Regions from separate parts of the Homo sapiens genome. Here all the other regions are linked to region 1. Evidence: promoter capture Hi-C in 16 types of primary human blood cells and fetal thymus (Javierre and others, 2016). All regions are on one chromosome and are shown on one strand. Each heading gives the region's core, a stretch centred on a gene start or on the middle of the fragment in contact. The rest is flanking DNA. Distances are from core to core; before and after follow the strand shown.

What was found. The method cuts DNA at HindIII sites, captures the fragments that hold promoters and counts their contacts. A CHiCAGO score of 5 or more calls a contact.
Region 2: a contact is called between the fragment with the promoter of ANKRD39 here and the fragment with the promoter of TMEM127 in region 1, in 3 of 17 cell types (non-activated CD4 T cells, fetal thymus and naive CD8 T cells). The highest score is 8.0, in non-activated CD4 T cells.
Region 3: a fragment that was not itself captured here is called in contact with the fragment with the promoter of TMEM127 in region 1 in 1 of 17 cell types (total CD8 T cells); the score reaches 5.3 in total CD8 T cells.

Annotation. Positions count from the first base shown.
Region 1 is chr2:96,264,583-96,267,282 of GRCh38, reverse strand. It overlaps TMEM127 (transmembrane protein 127), which reads left to right and starts at 1,286. Exons shown (of 4, transcript NM_017849.4): 1 at 1,286-1,414; 2 at 1,771-2,145. The coding sequence starts at 1,902. CIAO1 (cytosolic iron-sulfur assembly component 1) reads right to left here and starts at 1,058. Exons shown (of 7, transcript NM_004804.3): 1 at 794-1,058. The coding sequence starts at 932. RefSeq lists enhancers at 467-746, 977-1,166 and silencers at 1,397-1,446, 1,457-1,666, 1,717-2,026. The HindIII fragment of the contact is 2,360 bases long and covers 124-2,483 here.
Region 2 is chr2:96,856,731-96,859,556 of GRCh38, reverse strand. ANKRD39 (ankyrin repeat domain 39) reads left to right here and starts at 1,541. Exons shown (of 4, transcript NM_016466.6): 1 at 1,541-1,669. The coding sequence starts at 1,570. RefSeq lists silencers at 1,011-1,680, 1,711-1,880. The HindIII fragment of the contact is 20,079 bases long and covers 1-2,826 here.
Region 3 is chr2:96,908,675-96,911,374 of GRCh38, reverse strand. The region is part of intron 12 of FAM178B (family with sequence similarity 178 member B); the gene reads left to right. Among named protein-coding and RNA genes, the nearest start is that of SEMA4C, 40 kb to the right of the region's middle. The HindIII fragment of the contact is 1,375 bases long and covers 627-2,001 here.

The sequences.
Region 1 (2,700 bases), core at 37-2,536:
CAGCACCATGAAGCCATTCAATATCAGGGGCTAGCACTGGAATCAAGCTAGTGGGGGAAAGCTCAGGGAGTGTATTTCACAGCTTTTACAAAGATGCAAATGAATCTACTTCGTCTGGAAGCTTTTTTTTTTTTTTTTTTTTTTTTTTGAGACGGAGTTTTTGCTCTGATGCCCAGGCTGGGGTGCAATGGCACAATCTCGGCTCACTGCAATCTTCGCCTCCTGGGTTCAAGGGATTCTCCTGCCTCAGCCTCCCGAGTAGCTGGGATTACAGGTGCCCGCCACAACGCCCAGCTAATTTTGTAGTTTTAGTAGAGACGGGGTTTCACCATGTTGGCCAGGCTGGTCTTGACCTCTTGACCTCAGGTGATCTACCCGCCTCTGCTTCCCAAACTGCTAGGATTACAGGCGTGAGCCACCGCGCCCAACCTCTGGAGGCATCTTTCTAAAACAAATCTGATCTAAAATTGCTATTGGTTCCCCAATGCCCTCGGGATAAAATGTGACCATCCAGTCGCAAGTTACTCTGAAGGCCACTTTCCTAACACCTCTCTTTTCCCATTTTCCTGCCTCTGCAGCTAACACAATTCCCTTGACATTTCAGCTTGTCTGCTGACGTTTTTCCTCCCAACAGTCGCAGACTTCTTTGCCTGTAAAGCCCTTCTCGGCGTGGCTAACATCCCACTCTCCCTCCGCCAGGAACAGGTTCAGCCTCCCCTGCAGGCTGAGCGCCTGCACTACGCGCAGGCTGAGCCCTCAGCGCTGAGGGCCGCGCAACCAGGCTGGGCCTTACCCTCCGTGCCCCAGATGCGGATTCTCCGGTCGCCGCCGCACGAGGCCAGCAGGGTCCCCGCGGGGTTCCAGGCCAGGAACCAGCAGCGGGAGTCCGGGTGCGCCGGGACACGGCCCAGCAGCACCAGCGAGTCCTTCATGTCGGCCCGACGCAGGGGGAGGTGGGGGCGGGCAGAGTCCGCTGAGCAGACAGCGGGTCTCACCGCGCGCGTCTGCGTACCGCCCACTCCAGGCTTCCGCGGCCGACAGAGGCTCCCGCTTCCGCCGGAGGACCTGGGTCGCCCCGGAAACTCAACTGCCCACTGCTGCGGCCGCCATACCCTCTGGGAGTTGTAGTCGCTCCCCTCACCTCGGCAGGGAAAGCATCGCGGGACCGCCTCGAACTACCAGTCCCGTGAGGCCCTGCGCAGAGCCGGCGGCGCGCCCAGGCTGTGACGCGCGCGGGGGACGGGGCGGGGAGCCGGAGGAGGCGGAGGCAGAGGAGGAGGAAGCCGGAAGTGCATCGGCCCCGGGTCTGTCCGGGCGTTGCGGGATTGGGGCCTGGGAACGCTCGGCCCCCGGCAGCCGAGAAGCCCGTGACTGGGCTGAGCAGCACCATCCCAGCCCTGGGGCCTGCTGACTGGTGAGGAACAGTGGGCGGCGTGGGGAGGGTCTTTTCTGCGCACAGGTCGCACCCCAAACCGCCGGTCCCAGATCACGGGTCCCCGATCCCCGCGGCCCAGCCCGGTCCTCCGCCCCTCGGCATCCTCTGGCTGAGACCCTGACTCCGGGTCTTTGCTCTAGCAGTAGCCGATCCCCGATCCCTCCGCCCCCCACTCGAGTCTGCCCAGACCCCATCTGGCCCCTGGCCCTCTTCGGTTGTCGTCCCGCAGTCCCATTCCGGAGTCTCCTGTCTCCGCCCCCCGAATTCCCGCAGCCCTCCCCGTCTCCGTCAGCCCCGGGTCCCACCCCCCTATCCTCTGGTGTCAACCCTGACAGCCCAGTCCCGGCTTCACCTGCAGCGAACCCGGAGCGTTGCTATCCTCCACCGGACTGTCAGGCTCTGCGCGCCCCGCGGAGGTCGGCGGCGACCAGCAGCGACTGCGGAGCGACGGCGGGCGGCCCCGGGCATGTACGCCCCCGGAGGCGCAGGGCTGCCCGGCGGGCGCCGGCGGAGGAGCCCGGGAGGCAGCGCTCTGCCCAAGCAGCCGGAGCGTAGCCTGGCCTCGGCCCTGCCTGGCGCCCTGTCTATCACGGCGCTGTGCACTGCCCTCGCCGAGCCCGCCTGGTTGCACATCCACGGAGGCACCTGTTCGCGCCAGGAGCTGGGGGTCTCCGACGTGTTGGGCTATGTGCACCCGGACCTGCTGAAAGGTGAGGGTGCTGCGCGCTGGCCCTTAAAGCCTCGGTGGGGGACAGAATGTGTTCTGGCTGAAGCAGAGATAGCCAGGGACCAGACACTTGGTTGAAGGAAACGGCCCCATAACTGCCTGGTGTTCATGCCCACCAGGTGGCTCTGTTTGGGGTCCGGCCCCTCATTAATTCTGATGTTATTCAGCTAAGCACCTACTCCTCACAGCCATGTTAATCCGGACTGCTGCTATTTTAGGATTCTGCTGGAGGAAGGACGCTGTGTATCGAGAAAAGATAAGGGTGCTAGGTATCACAGTTAGCTGGCCTCTTCTAAGGATCCTGTGAAATACGGAAAAGCTTCTTTGGGGCAGACTGATTAATGGAGAAAAAGGAACTTTTAATATGACTAGGTTTTAAAAGATATCTTAGAGTTCTATGGTAATCGGATGCGTATTAGAGAAGAAGGGAATCTGTGGCATTTTAGGTAATCGGAAGACCGTTCCATTGCCACCCGCAGTACAACAGTCGGAATGTGGCTCTTGGAACCATTATAGGTGTGCCTGACAGAGGCAAGGT
Region 2 (2,826 bases), core at 292-2,791, 590 kb before region 1:
GTGGCTGCGGGGCTGGGAACGAGACCATGGCCATAGCCCCTTGGGAGCCAGCCTTGGCTTCTGGCCAGAAGGAGAAGTCAGGGCACTGGGAGTCCAGGGGAGAAGCGGAGTGGTGGGGGGGGTGCCTTCCCAGAACTCAAGACGGGTAGTGGGAATGAGGGGCCAAAGGAGTGGAAGGTTGTGGAGATGAGATCATTGCTTGTGTGAGGATGGGGTTCTCAACCTGCTTAGGGGAGGAGAAACGACTTCCAGCCTTCTACCCACCAGGAATGCTAGGGTCTTCCGTGCCCCAACTAGCGGGGGAAGGAACTTACATCCAGTGTGCACCAGACCACTGTCCTGGAGAGGGACTGGCACAGAACCCAACCTGCATTCTGTCGTTCATGCACTCTTTCTAAGCCGATCAGGCGGTCTCCCCTGTACACTTGATCGTGGCTTGAGCAGGCAGCTGCCTGGGTTTTAACTGGGAATTGAGAAGGCTGGGGTCCGCTGAGGAGCACGCTGCGAAGGTGCGCGGTCCGCAGACGGCCTCCCGGTGGGTTTTGATCATGAAGACCGATTCCGTAAACTCAGCGCCCACTGTGGGGCCAGGGGGTTCTGCACAAACCAAGGCCCTGCCCCTGCCCTGAGGTGGAGCTACAGGCAGGACAAGTTGTGGCCACCTGCCCCTTGCTGGACTTGTAAGGAAGAGCAGGGTACGGGGAGGGGCGTCTCGAGGCCTTTCCAGCCGTCACTTTGCCGCTGCCCCGGGGGCGGTCGGCCTTGGTCCGGGGTGGTGCCAGGAAGAGGGGCTAAAAACCGTGGAGCGCGCCCCGGCCCGATGGCTCACGCCTGTAATCCCAGCACTTTGGGAGGCCAAGGTGAGCGGATCACGAGGTCAAGAGATCGAGACCATCCTGGCGAAACCCCGTCTCTACTAAAAAATACAAAAAATTAGCCGGGCGTGGTGGCGGGCGCCTGTAGTCCCAGCTACTCAGGAGTCTGACGCAGGAGAATCGCTTGAACCCGGGAGGCGGAGGTTGCAGTGAGCCGAGATCGCGCCACTGCACACAAGTCTGGGTGACAGCGAGACTCCGTCTCAAAAAAAAAAAAAAAAAAAAAAAAGACCGCGGAGCGCGTGGCGCCTCCCTGCCCTAGGGACTAGGGGCGGTAAAGAGAGGAGGCTGCGAGGTCGCTGGACGGCTGGGTCATGGCGAAGGTAACGGGAAAGCTCCCGACCGGACCCAGCTGCCTCATCCCCACACCCTGCAAGGCCAGGCGGCCCGGCGGCCCTCCAGCGGCGCGCGGCTCCCGGAACCCAGCGCCTCAGTCCTCGCTTGGCCTTGGACGCCCTCGCGCGGAGGCCTCGGGGCACGGCCGGGCGCAACAAGCCCCGCCCTACCGTTGCAATTGGTTCTCGAGCTAAGGCCTAGGCGTTTGATTGGTCAGCTTTGGCGAGAAGGCGGGACTAGGGCGACAGCCGCGGACGCCGAGCGGCCAGATCAGGGACGCGGGGCGGGCCCTGCGTCCGCCCCTCCCGCCGAGGCTGAGCCTGAGACCCGGGGCGGATCGACTGACGCCGGGGCCGGGATGGCGACGCCTCGGCCCTGCGCGGACGGGCCCTGCTGCTCGCATCCCAGCGCGGTGCTCGGCGTACAGCAGACGCTGGAGGAGATGGACTTCGAGAGGGGTGAGGCTGCCGCGCGGCCCTCGTGGTTCTCACCAGGCCCCGGCCCAAGGAGGAGGCGTGGGGCCAAGGAGAGGCGGATGAACGGGGCCCCGAGAGCTTGGGGCTTGGGGCTTGGGGCCTGGTGCGGGAAGGCGGGCGGGACCCACGGTTCCCGTGTACTGAGAGCCTCCCAGGGCCCCGCACGAGCTCGGCCAGGAGACACCTGTCCCGCGGGCGGCGGGGAAGCGGAAGCACTGGTTTCCGTAACCCTCCCGAGTAGCGGGGGACGACCTCCCCTGGGAGACACAAGCCTGCTCAGGTGTTTGAGAGAGGGCCCGGGGAGCAGAATCTGCACCAGGGGCATTGCACCCAACCTGAGGGGCATGGAGCTGCAGGCCTGGGGGCTGCGCGGTGAAGGAGAGCAGTGGCCTTTGTTTAGCCCCGGGTGCCAGGCAGCCTGCATGCTTTAAAGATGGCAAGAGCTTCGCACGGGCAGCCTTCGAGGCAGGGCACAGTATCTCATCTGTGGGACCCAGAGAGGTAACACGTTTGGCCCAGATTATACAGAGATTATGGTGCCAATAGGAACAGAGGAAGGCGGGAAACCAGGGTGCTTCTTGTGAGCGTTGGGAACCACTGTGCTGTGTCATCTGCCCTTGCGGATGCAGCCCTCGATTGCCACTGCTGTGTAAGCATTCTCATGGAACTCTTCCTTTACCGTGGTTCTGGCACCTGCCTACTTCCCTCCGCCCCTCCTACCGCTGTCCTCTGCACTGCTGAAGTGGTTGCCTCAGAGGGTCTTTCTGCTTCCACGCTTGCCTTCCTACAGGGTTTTCTACTCTCACATAGCAGCCAGAGCGGCTTTTTGAAAATTAGAAATCACATCATTCCCTGTTATGGCCTACAAAGCTCTGTAGACCCACCCCTGCCGGTTCTACTTCTCCTCCTCATTTTATTTCTCATGCTTTTCTTCCCCCAATCACTACGCCGCAGCCACACTGGTCTTGTTTTGGTGTCTCAAATATGCAAGACCTTTTCCTGAGTTAAGGCCGTTGGACTTGCTGTCCCATCTCCTTAGAATGAACTTCCTACAACCGTTAAGCTAGCTGATGCTTTTCTTCAGATCCCAGCTCCAATGTCATCTCCTCAGAGACCCTCCCTAAACACCCCAGTTCTCA
Region 3 (2,700 bases), core at 65-2,564, 640 kb before region 1:
GTCTCCTCCTGGAGAGGCCTCTTCCCATTGTCCTCCTCTGCCTGGTTCACATCTCTTCAGCCTCAAGACGAGGCTCCGGCCAAGGCATCTCCTCTTCGAGCAGCCCTTGTTGCAGGCCCATCAGGCTGTCCCCCTCACTGACGCGGGCCGTGAGCATCAGAGGGACAGGTGCTGTGGCCGTACTCCCTGAGTCCACAGAGCCTGGCATGGCAGGGGGACTCACTCAGCACACTCGTGCTTTGTCTGCTTCTGGAGGGTAGATTTCAAAGAAGCATAAAGAGGTAGAACTTAAAAAAAAAGATTCTAGGGCCAGGCACGGTGGCTCACACCTGTAATCCCAGCACTTTGGGAGGCTGAGGCAGGTGGATCACTTGAGGTCAAGAGTTCAAGACCAGCCTGGCCAACATGGTGAAACCCCGGGTCTACTAAAAATACAAAAATTAGCCGGGCATTGTGGTGTGCACCTGTAGTCCCAGCTACTCAGGAGGCTGAGGTTGTTGTAGTGAGCCAAGATCACGCCACTGCACTCCAGCCTGGGCGACAGAGCAAGACTGTCTCAAAAAAAAAAAAAAAAAAATTAAGAAGAGAGATGTCTCAGGTGGGCTGGGAGATCTTGCACTGAAGCTTTGAATATGGATTACAAAGGAGCCCAGTGAGGAAAAGAAGGGAAGCATTAAAGGCTGCAGGGGCTCCCCTCAGAGCTTGTTCGTGGTCTCAGGTTTGGAAAGAAGGGCACCAAAGTAAGGTAGCCGGACAAACGGCGTGGACCAGCGGGAGTGTTGTTGGGAAATGCCGAAGGCCATAAAAGGAGTTTCTGTGTAGTTACTTTTGAAGCAAGGAGTGCGGTTTGGGGCTGACAGTAAAACGTTAGCCCTGATGCAGACGGAACAACACTACACAATTCGTATTTTGCTTTTGCCGTCTTTGTCAAGGAGAACAGTTTTTCATTTGGAATCAAATATTGGTCGTCGAAGGGGGTTAAAGCCTAAGAGAGTGTGGGAGGCTGCATGACCAACCTCACTGTGCAGAGGAGGCCGTCTCCCCGGTGGGACGGCGTCTCACTGCTCCTGGGAGACATGAAGTTGGGGCCGTGGCTCCATGGGGACTTTTGGAGGCGGAGGGCTTCCAGGAGATGGGGGCAATGGTGCTTGATGTGCTCCTCCAGGTTATTCTCTAGGGGATTCCGGCTTGGGAGCACATACGTAGAAAAGGAAACACTGCTTTCTAGGAGTCCTAACAAGAAATCATACCAGGCAAGCCTCACTTTTCCACAGGTCAACCAGAATCATACTCCAGAGAGGACTGTGCAGTGCCTGTATGTAGGTTTCCTGGGCATTTGGTAGAGGCTGTCACCATAGGCTGGGTTCGGCATGAAGGAATGCGGGTCAAATGATGACAGAATGAAGTGGGCTCATTATCAAAAGGTGCTGCTGGCCATCAGAGTGTGCCCAGAGGGCAGGCCCTGTCACCACCCCGAGTTCTGTCTCCACTCACAGGTTGGCCAGGGCAGGCCCAGTGTTTTGGATGAGGCTATTAATGGAACAATGGTCAGATTCACAGATGACATGAATACAACTGACAGCAGACCGAAGATCCCAGAAGATCTCAACAGACTGTAATGATGGACTGAGTTGAAAAGGGAGGCCCAGCTGCACAATTAAGAACAGGATCTGGGAAATGGGATTTGACAGCAAGACGTGTGAAAAAAAAAGACTTTGGGCTCAATCTGTTAACTGCGTTGTGTTGTGGGGCTGCCAAGAAAATGAGCATCAGCCTCAACTCCGAGTGTCGCACTTGAAAGGGAACATTGACAACCCCCAGGGCCGTCAGAGGACCCAAACCAAAATGGCAAAAAAAGATACAAAAAGATGGGAATGAGGGGGCTGTGGCACCTGCAGGAAGGGGCAGCCACGGGAATGTGGCAACTTCTTCCAAGCGTAGAGGACCTAGGTTGGCGGAGAGCTCCCTCCTGGAGGCCCCAGAGGACAGGATCCAGAAGCTTTGAGTGGAAGTCCCAGAAGGGCAGGTTTTGGCAAAATATGGGAACGATTTCCTTTGGTTAGTCCGGTAAATGAATTTGGGCTGTCTTGGCAGATACTGCACTTCCTTTGCTGAAGTGAACACTTATTGGGGGTGTGGCAAAGAGAATTAAAATGGATAACTATGCAGAAGCTAGATTAGGTGACTTCAAGGTGTTTTCTTTTTTCTTTTTTCTTTTTTTTTTTTTTTTTTGAGACAGAGTCTTGATCTGTCGCCCAGGCTGGAGGGCGGTGGCGTGATGTCGGCTCACTGCAACCTCTGCCTCCCAGGTTCAAGTGATTCTCCTGCCTCAGCCTCCCAAGTAGCAGGCATTACAGGTACCTGTCACCACACCCGGCTAATTTTTGTATTTTTAGTAGAGACGGGGTTTCACCATGTTGGCCAGACTGGTCTCGAACTGACCTCAGGTGATCCTCCCACCTCAGCCTCCCAAAGTGCTGGGGTTACAGGCGAGAGCCACTGCGCCCAGCAGACTTCAAGGTGTTTTCTAAGCCTGAGGTTCTGTGATTTTTATCATACAAAGAGGGAGATGAGAATGGAAGTTGGTATGATTGTTCATGTGTACCTTTTAATTTACTTATAATACGTGTGAATGGAAGGACCCATATCATAGGTGGACACTTCGTGCCCTTTGCAAAAGAGATCATCCATGTACCACCT